Linked DNA regions of Homo sapiens: region 2 is linked to region 1. Evidence: promoter capture Hi-C in 16 types of primary human blood cells and fetal thymus (Javierre and others, 2016). All regions are on one chromosome and are shown on one strand. Each heading gives the region's core, a stretch centred on a gene start or on the middle of the fragment in contact. The rest is flanking DNA. Distances are from core to core; before and after follow the strand shown.

Region 1 (4,451 bases), core at 1,095-3,594:
AGATAATTCAGCAGTGGTCAAAAGTAGCAATGATGCTTCCATATACATAATTATCATGAATAGCTGGGTAAACTCTTAAGTATTCAGTATTACAATTCAGTAATCTGATAAAGCGTTACCTTTCTTGCATATGTTAGATTTCAAAGAAATTCTGGAATATAGGATGAAAATGTGAATCCTTCAAAACTGTCAGAATTACATTTTAGTCGTCATTAAAGTATTTAGGCAACAAAATCAGGTACTCTGGAGAATTTACACATTTCATTAATAGTGACAACCTAATCATTCATGTTGGACTTCTAGTATCCATCAGGGTAAAACCATAAAACAAACAAACAGAAACCTGTTCTTAAACTTCTCCAAGTAATTAAAAAACTGCCACTGGCCCTGTCCCTCCTTTCCCAGACTAAAGGATACAAGATAGAGTCTGTAGAAAACAGCAACAACAAAAGCAATCTAGCCCTAGTCTCCCCTCTACTGGGAGCATTGTTTTTCTGGCCTAAATTAATTTATGGCTTTCTAATCTATGGAATTATTTATGTGACTAATGGGTAACTTAAAAATATTTAGAACACCACTATTTATCATTAGAAATAAGAAGAATAAAGAATGTTAAAACTTTCAAGTAAGCATATTTAACGTCTTCTTCAGATGTCCACAGTTTTTTAAGCAGTTCTATTAATATCAACACAAGAGAAAGTCAGAACAATGTAAACAATAACATTCAACTAGTTATTTTTACATAATTACGTTTGCAGAACTCAAGAGCTTTACTTTCCGTATATGCCCTTTGAAATAAGTCATTGCTTTAAAACTTCCCAGGAACTCTAAAGCTACCATTTGTAACATTAATCTCCAAACAATCCAGTAAAGGATGTTTCCCAAAATATTAACGAATTGACAACTTTTCAAAAGCACTTAATAACTATATTTAATTTTAGATGATAGGAGGGGAAAGGTTCTCAGACCACCTATCTCAGACGTCTGCCTTCAAAACAGTTAGATATAACTATATCCATTTTCTTGAACACTTAGGCCAGTGAGGCAGAATCTCAAAAGGATGTAAGAGTGCTTTCTCCACAGAGTTTGTTTCACCACCCGCCCAGCATCAGCTCCTGGCAAGCAGGGTAATGATAAGGCATAAATCTACAAATAAATTAATGCTTAAACTCTTGTGGAGTTCAAATTTATAAATTCTCATAAATTCATTGTCATTTATTTTCTAATTTTTACAACGCAGAAATGTTATTAGAGTGCTAAGAACGGCAACTATAATCTCACATTGTTGGGCTTTGGCCGTTTCGTATCCTTTTACAACGAACTTGTGTTTTTTTGATAGTTTTCTCTAAAGGGTATTTATGAAAGATTCAGAAATGTAGTATCTCTCTTCAAACCCTTGTTAAATATATATAGTATATATGTATATATTAATATGCAAAATAATTTATTTTTGATGCATGGTCGGACTTTTCATTACTTTTCATTCGAATCAATTGCTTTTAATTAATATATTTAAAAAGTCTCCTTAAATTGTTTGTTCCTTTCAATCTTTGCAAGCAAAACAAGTCTGATTTTGGAGAGGGGAGGACAGCAAAGATTCTATTTTACGATCTACTTAATAAATAGTATACCTGCCTTATATCCAATACCGTCTTTTTTCTGGAACGCATTTCCTTTTTACTCAAACCTTTCTTAGTACAACCCTACTAATAAGTCCATCTTCAAAGGGGTAAATGATCTATACAGAAGTGTCTGGCCGGCGGAGGGATGAGAACAGCAACCTAGGCTCTAGACATATACTTAATAGCCATAAAAATAAAACAATGTCCCTCGAAATGTCCACAGTTTACACTGCAATGGTAGTTTAGATACATAAATATTCGCTGCTTGCTGTGCCTTGTAAGAATCAGGTGTGTGGCTCTAAAACTCAGTTGATTATCTCATCAGGCACCATGGTGTGCAAAGCCCTGCAGGACGTACATTACCCTGGTCCGCGATCACAGGGAGGTCAGAGCCCCTCTCGCATGACGCCGCGACAGTTCCAGCATCACCCACATCAATCCTGAGCTTGCCTTGGTATCTCTGCGGCCCCACCGGCTTCTTACCTGGAGGAGGAGGCGGCTGCAGCGGCGGACAGCGGAAGGTGCTGAAGCCGGCGGGCGCAGCTGCGAGGCGAGCACCACCAACGCGCGGACCCTCCCCGCCCTCCCCGCCTGCTCGCTCAGGGCGCCCGGGGGCGGGGCGGCCGGGCCCGCGGGCTCCGAGGGGCGGGAAGCGTGCTCCGCAAGCCCCAGCGCGGAGCCACGATGGAAGGCGCCGCGAGCCCGATCTCCAGGGTCTGCCCCAGAGGCCCACGTGACAGCTACACAGGTCGCTGATTGGAGCGCCCGAGAGGGGGAGGCGGAAGTGGCTCGTGACCCTTGGAGACTAGGCTGAGGGAGAAGTGGTTACCTGGCAACAGAGAAAGTGTGTTGAAGGCGCAGCTCCTCCGTACTGGAGCGAGGCTTTGGGCAGAGGGTTTGCACTGAGGCTGAAAGTGGAGGAAAACGGTGAACCATCAGCGTTCTCACCACCTAACACATTTTATAGCGAGTCTGCACTTTCTAGGAAAATGAGTCAAATATACAGTAAGTCAGTCATCCTGTCTCTTTCTTGAGGGACCTGGAGGAGGGACTTGAACCAGTGCCTGGAATGTGAGTGCAGAATGCTGTCTCGCCTGCACTTCATTATTGTCTGATTGGGCCCAAGAAGGTCTGTGGGAGAGCTCAATGGATAAGATTATTTGTTTATATTAATCGAGTTGTATGTGGTTAATGTATCTGCCTTCACAAAACTGACATTTTCCCTGTGGGATCTGGTTGAATGGAAGTGCTGGATGTTGTCATTCCTACTGGATTCTTCACATCTCTGAAATATCTTCACTACCTGTGGCCTTTATCCAACACACTAGAGAGAATAAGCCTCGACGTACTCGAAACAAAGTGTATTTAATGACATCTATCGAGAATTAATTATACTCCACTCTAAATAGTTAATAAATGAATGGTCGACCTCAACCAGAGAAAGTCCCTGGGCCTAATTCTTACCTTCCTATGCAGTAGATTTTAATGCTCCTTTTTTCCAAAATATTCTCTGCAGAGACGAGTACCTACCACAGCACTCAATATTCTATATTGTAAATTAAAATTAACTTAAATGTTGGATTTCCATATAAAGAATAAACTTGTTAAAGCTAAAATCAGTTCTTACAACTCCGTCCCCTATATTCTAACAAAGTATCTGATGAATAGCAGGTCTTCAATTAATTCTTGATGGATAGATGGATAAAGAAAGAAAGAAATTAGCACATAATCTACCAGAGAAAGTATAAGGGCAATAACTAAATATAACTCAATGTGTTAAGTACTAAAATAGGGTTACATAAAAGTGCTATGAGATGATTTCAGATGAGGGAGGCAGAACTTTTTCTTCCAAGGTATTCAGAGAAGCTTTCAATATGATTAGTATTTGAGCAGGGACTTATAAATAGGTAGAATTTCACCTGATAAAAAGGGGAAAGTGTATACTATGCAGCAGGAGCAGCATTGCCAAAAGCATAAAGTGGGAAAAAATAAACGATTGATGTAAATAAATTTGATGTTTTTGCCTTCTCCGGAGTTGGGGATGTGAATCCAAAGATAAGAAGGAAGATGGAAATTGGCAAAAGACTGTACTAGAAAAATAAGAAAACTTGATTGGGAAAGATGCAGAATTCTATATATGGGTTAGGCTTTAACCTCTAAACCAAAGGAAGAGATTGAAGTTTATAAAATCAGTGCTTTTTCATCAAGAAAGACACCTTGGAAACATTGGAGATACATGGGATGCAGGAAGATGAAGAACATGGTCTGTTAGGAGAAAAATTCAGTAGTTCATGGGAAAAGATGCTGATGACCTGAGTTAAGACAATGAAAATAAGAATAGCGAAGAGGGAAAATCACAAGAAACATTTCTGTGAAAACAGACTATAGTTTTCATTTATGACTGATATTTGCTAGGTATAGTGCTGAATAGTCAATGGTGTACATGAAGAGAAAATGCTGAAGATACAACGTCTAGCTTAGTCCATCGGTTGGACGGAAAAAATCTTTTATGTTTATTTTGCTCATAATGGCTCCAGCTCTCCAGTTAAGAAACAAAAAACCGGCCGGGCGCGGTGTTTCACTCCCGTAATCCCAGCACTTTGGAAGGCCGAGGTGGGCGGATCACCTGAAGTCAGGAGTTTGACGGCAGCGTGGTGGTGAAACCCCGTTCCTACTAAAATACAAGATGAGCTGGGCGTGGTGGCGGGCACCTGTACTTCCAGGTCCTCGGCAGGCTGAGGCAGGAGAATGGCGTGAACCCAGAAGGCGGAGATTGCGCCACTGCACTTTAGCCTGGGTGACAAGAGTGAGACTCCGTCTCAAAAAAAA
Region 2 (4,451 bases), core at 892-3,391, 52 kb before region 1:
GTAAATGTACAGAAATAAAGAATTGATTAAAAATACAAATAAGGGAAAAATGACTGATTTAGGTTAATTCCAAGTAAAATATTCACAGCTGTGTTGAATGTATTATATATATATATATATATATATATATATATAAAACTTCAAATGAATATTTAGACTCAGTACAATACTGGGTAACATTTTAACAATAATAATATCAAAATTAAAATTTTGTCACTTTTGGTTTTATTCACAATGGGGACTGGTCACTAGAAAGACCAAGCAAGTACAAAATTATATATAAGAAAAATATACTATTTAAGATACCTTGCTAATTAAATTCTTACCTGGATGAAAAATTGATAGACTTCCATCAATATGACCAAACACAACTTTCCCCTTTTGGTGTGTATGCCATCTGAACATACAGATATCAGACAAGAAGCTATGAGCATCTTTGTGTACAATCACTCCACTATCTGGTCCTGAGATGGTCCAAATGAACAGTGGGCCTCTGTGGGAAACAAATGCCACCACATCCTCTGCATTCCAGCACCAACTAAGAGAAGCAGGGATCCCTGGAATACATTAAATACAGATACATAATAAAGATACAGCATAAGATTACACCATTAAATATTACTTGCCCTGTTTACATTTCTAAAACAAATTATTATTTTTAAGATACATTACTTTCTTATTTGGGAATTGGATTTATAAAGAAATCCCAAAGACTGCAGGGAACATAGGCAGGGAAAGTCCATGATGAAAGAAAATGTATCTAGTTAGGTTTAAATACTACTTACATGATCATTTGCTTCATATAGTCAAATACATTTATAGACTTTTTTATTTTAGTAGACTATATATTAAAGATTAGAGCAATACATTCTTACTGTGTATTTGTATATAAGACCTCTAGGCATTCTAGGTATACAAGGTAGTGTGGGATAAGATTCCTGCTTTAGAGAATTTTAAATGTGTGTTAGGGAGACAGGGATTAGTGAATAAAAATATAAATGCTACTATAAGGATTTAAAAACAATGGACTTAATGTTATAATCTATGTCTTATCAGGAATTTAGATTCAAATCTAAGCCTTGCCTCAGAAAAACAAGTCATTTTATTTCTCTAAATTTCTGTTTCCTCATCTATAAAATGGAGATAACAATAAAAATAGCTGACCACTTATTTCACATGAAAGTCAAGGAAATAAAATCATTTATGTAAAGGTACATTTACATTCCATCAATAAGATGGAATATAAAAGTTAATTGTTAATATACCTGCTATTGTGATCAAATAAATCATATATAAAATAAGTATTATGAGAAATTTATGAGAGAGAGATTGCACATCTTCCAACACTGATATATTAGCTGGCTGCATCAAAATCATGAAATGGAATATAACATATCAGATCATGTGGAGTTTGAGCCAAGGAATTTATTTATTTATTTATTTTATAATAATTATTATTTTTTGAGACGGAGTCTTGCTCTGTTGCCCAGGCTGGAGTGCAGTGATGCAATCTCGGCTCACTGCAAGCTCCGCCTCCCGGGTTCATGCCATTCTCCTGCCTCAGCCTCCCGAGTAGCTGGGACTACAGGCGCCCGCCACCATGCCCGGTTAATTTTTTTTTTTGTATTTTTAGTAGAGACGAGGTTTCACAGGAATTTATTTTTAACAAGCTTCATCAAATGATTTTGATATGCAGAAAGGTTTAGAAACCACTGTGCTACTGTCCTGGAAAGAAATTAGATTTGAATTATACCTAGAAGGAGGGGTAGAGTTTAAATACATGGAATAAGCAGTATTTCCCAGGAAGAGAAAATGATATGAACAAAGACACAGAGTGGAAATTCGCTGATTGACAGTAAGTTTAGTTTGTGTTAACAGTCTATGTGCTCCAAGAGGCAAAAACAAAGCCTAATGCCTACTTCAGGGCCTGACCCATAATGAGGACTCCATAAATATTTGCTGAATGAATGAATGTATACATGAAAAACGCCAGTAAAATAGTTGATATGGTTTTAGGATACATTAACAGAAGTAGAATTTACCCAAAAAAGAGATGAGGTACTCTGTATGGATCAAACCACCACAGCACAGTAGAGGAAAGACAATAGAATACTGGTTCTCCGACTGTATATTTAGAGAAAGACAGCAAGGAAAGCGAAAGGACCAGAAACAGTGTCATATAATAATAATAGAAAACACTTTTATAGTGACTTATGTACAAGCACTTTCAAGGAGTGTTGCAATTTAATTCTCCCAACACTATTCTGAGATAGGTAGGTAGTATTATTATCCACTGTGACATAAAGTGACTTTTTCAAGTTGGTGACAATTTTTACATTTTACATTTGGAAAAACTAATATGCATTTTCATTTAAATGGATTGTTAGATTATTAGAAACAAAAGGAAGAAGAAGTAAAAATACAGAGGCAAGATCAAATTCAACAACTGTATTTGGAAGTTGAAAAAAAAAGTTCACTTAATGCAAATTTCTACTTTGCTTAAGCTGGATTCTAAAAAGAAAAATAAGCCTAAAACATTTCAAAAGTGTTACTTAAGATGGAAATCACCAAAAATAGTCATAATTTTTTTGCAAATAAAATAGCAAAGCTTTCAATCTTCAAATTAAGAAGACATTTGGATGAGGGAGATATTGATAGCTGAAAATTTTCAAAGAAAGGAAAAACATGAAAAATTTGCCAAAAGCTTTCCACAATTATCTCATCATTCTGGGACTGTTAATTAGAAAGTATTATTTAGTTGTATATCCAGTGACAAAAGAAACTATGGTGCATATAGCTGATGAATAAATAAAATCTTCCCCCATGAATGGATGTGATGTATATAGTGTCTGATGATAAATCCATGGATACACTAGGTGATAATAAAATTAATCATTACTTCTGCAAAACATTTAGAATTTATGTTTATTATATGCAGTTATAACCTAACGTTGACTTTGTGTTACATCTTTACGAGAACAATAATATCGTGCAACATTTTAGTTTATGGCACATACAATATGGAAAGAATTTCAAGAAAAATTTGTTGTGTTATTTAAAATTAATCTCACACAAAGCTGGATTTAAAGTACTTGGAAATGCATTATCAATCAATATAAACAGTAATGGAGTAACCTATAGAATTTGTGATTGCTGGACAAACAGATATGACCAGAAAACATGGGGAGATATGAAAAGTCTTAATTGAGGCCATCAATCACAATTTATATATCACAAAGCATTGTGCCAAAATAATTTGTTTTTTTCTCATGGAAAGCCTTAAGAAAAATTGCTAATTACATTAATGGAAGCTCACCGAATAGCTGACTTTTTACAATATTTTGTTCAGAGATTGGGGCAAACATTACTCACTGTCTAATACATTGGTTGTTCTAAGTAAAAATAAAAAACAGGGTACATAAACTTGGGAATGAGATCCATATACTTCTAGTTGAAAATTAACTTCATTTGACAAATATCTTTAACAGTTGAGTAATAAAATTTATGTATTACACTGATATTTTAAGCATTCTTAATGACCTAAATTTGAAAAGACAAACCAAAATACTAAAAATATCAAATATGTCTAAAAGTTACAAAAGATATTATTTTACTATTATTATGGAAACAAAATTTAAAGATAATTGCCTATAAATTCCCAGTATTTTTGCCTTAGACTATTACAAAGAAATTTGAACAAAATAAGGTTAGTGAGATTGTCATGTCCAGTTTTATATCTCAAATTTATAACAATTATTTTTAGAGAAGAAGCTGAATTGAAAAACATATCTAGCAGTAGCTTTCAAAACCATAATCAATTGAGCTAAATATGGTGCTCAAAAAGAGAGTTAATTATTGTGACACTGAACACAGAATAATTATTACTTAACTTTACCATTATGATGGGATAAGATTAAATGCGAGTTCCCAATTCTAAGTAGAAAGAGTATAATGCTATTATTCCAATTCATAAAGTCCAATTTATGTGAATGAGGATGTTCTACCTTGACCAAATTAAAAATAAAGGCATGAAACCAGCTTAACAATGCATCAAATATATGCATAATACTTTCTTTGTAATTTAAAGGTTGGAATAGAGTAATGAACAGCCAAGGCTTGTTACTTGTCTCAATAACAAAATCTTTCTGATTATTATTTTTATATTTATTTTGGAAATTCTTACATTATATTTAAACATTAATAAAATTATTTGGTATTGGCTATGTTTTTAGTCGATCATATGTTCTACGTATAATTATTTCATGAAATTTTGTTTCAGCTTTGTACCTATGGGCATGAGTCATTATGTGAAATTTATTTCTTATACAGATTACCATTAAGAAGTTTGAAAACAACATTTTAAAAGCTGAACTAATAATATTGATAGTGCTTGTTGAAATAAAAATATTTTATTCCATAAAATAAATCCCAGTTGTAATTATACCTTTTGT

Evidence for each region. Contacts are between HindIII fragments. The CHiCAGO score rates a contact against its expected background, and 5 or more counts as called.
Region 2: a fragment that was not itself captured here is called in contact with the fragment with the promoter of WDR17 in region 1 in 1 of 17 cell types (monocytes); the score reaches 5.3 in monocytes.

What each region holds. Positions count from the first base shown.
Region 1 is chr4:176,063,734-176,068,184 of GRCh38, reverse strand. It overlaps WDR17 (WD repeat domain 17), which reads right to left and starts at 2,344. Exons shown (of 29, transcript NM_181265.4): 1 at 2,106-2,344. RefSeq lists a silencer at 2,089-2,468. The HindIII fragment of the contact is 5,440 bases long and covers 1-3,490 here.
Region 2 is chr4:176,115,973-176,120,423 of GRCh38, reverse strand. WDR17 (WD repeat domain 17) reads right to left here. Exons shown (of 29, transcript NM_181265.4): 3 at 4,445-4,451; 4 at 327-557. Among named protein-coding and RNA genes, the nearest start is that of WDR17, 52 kb to the right of the region's middle. The HindIII fragment of the contact is 938 bases long and covers 1,673-2,610 here.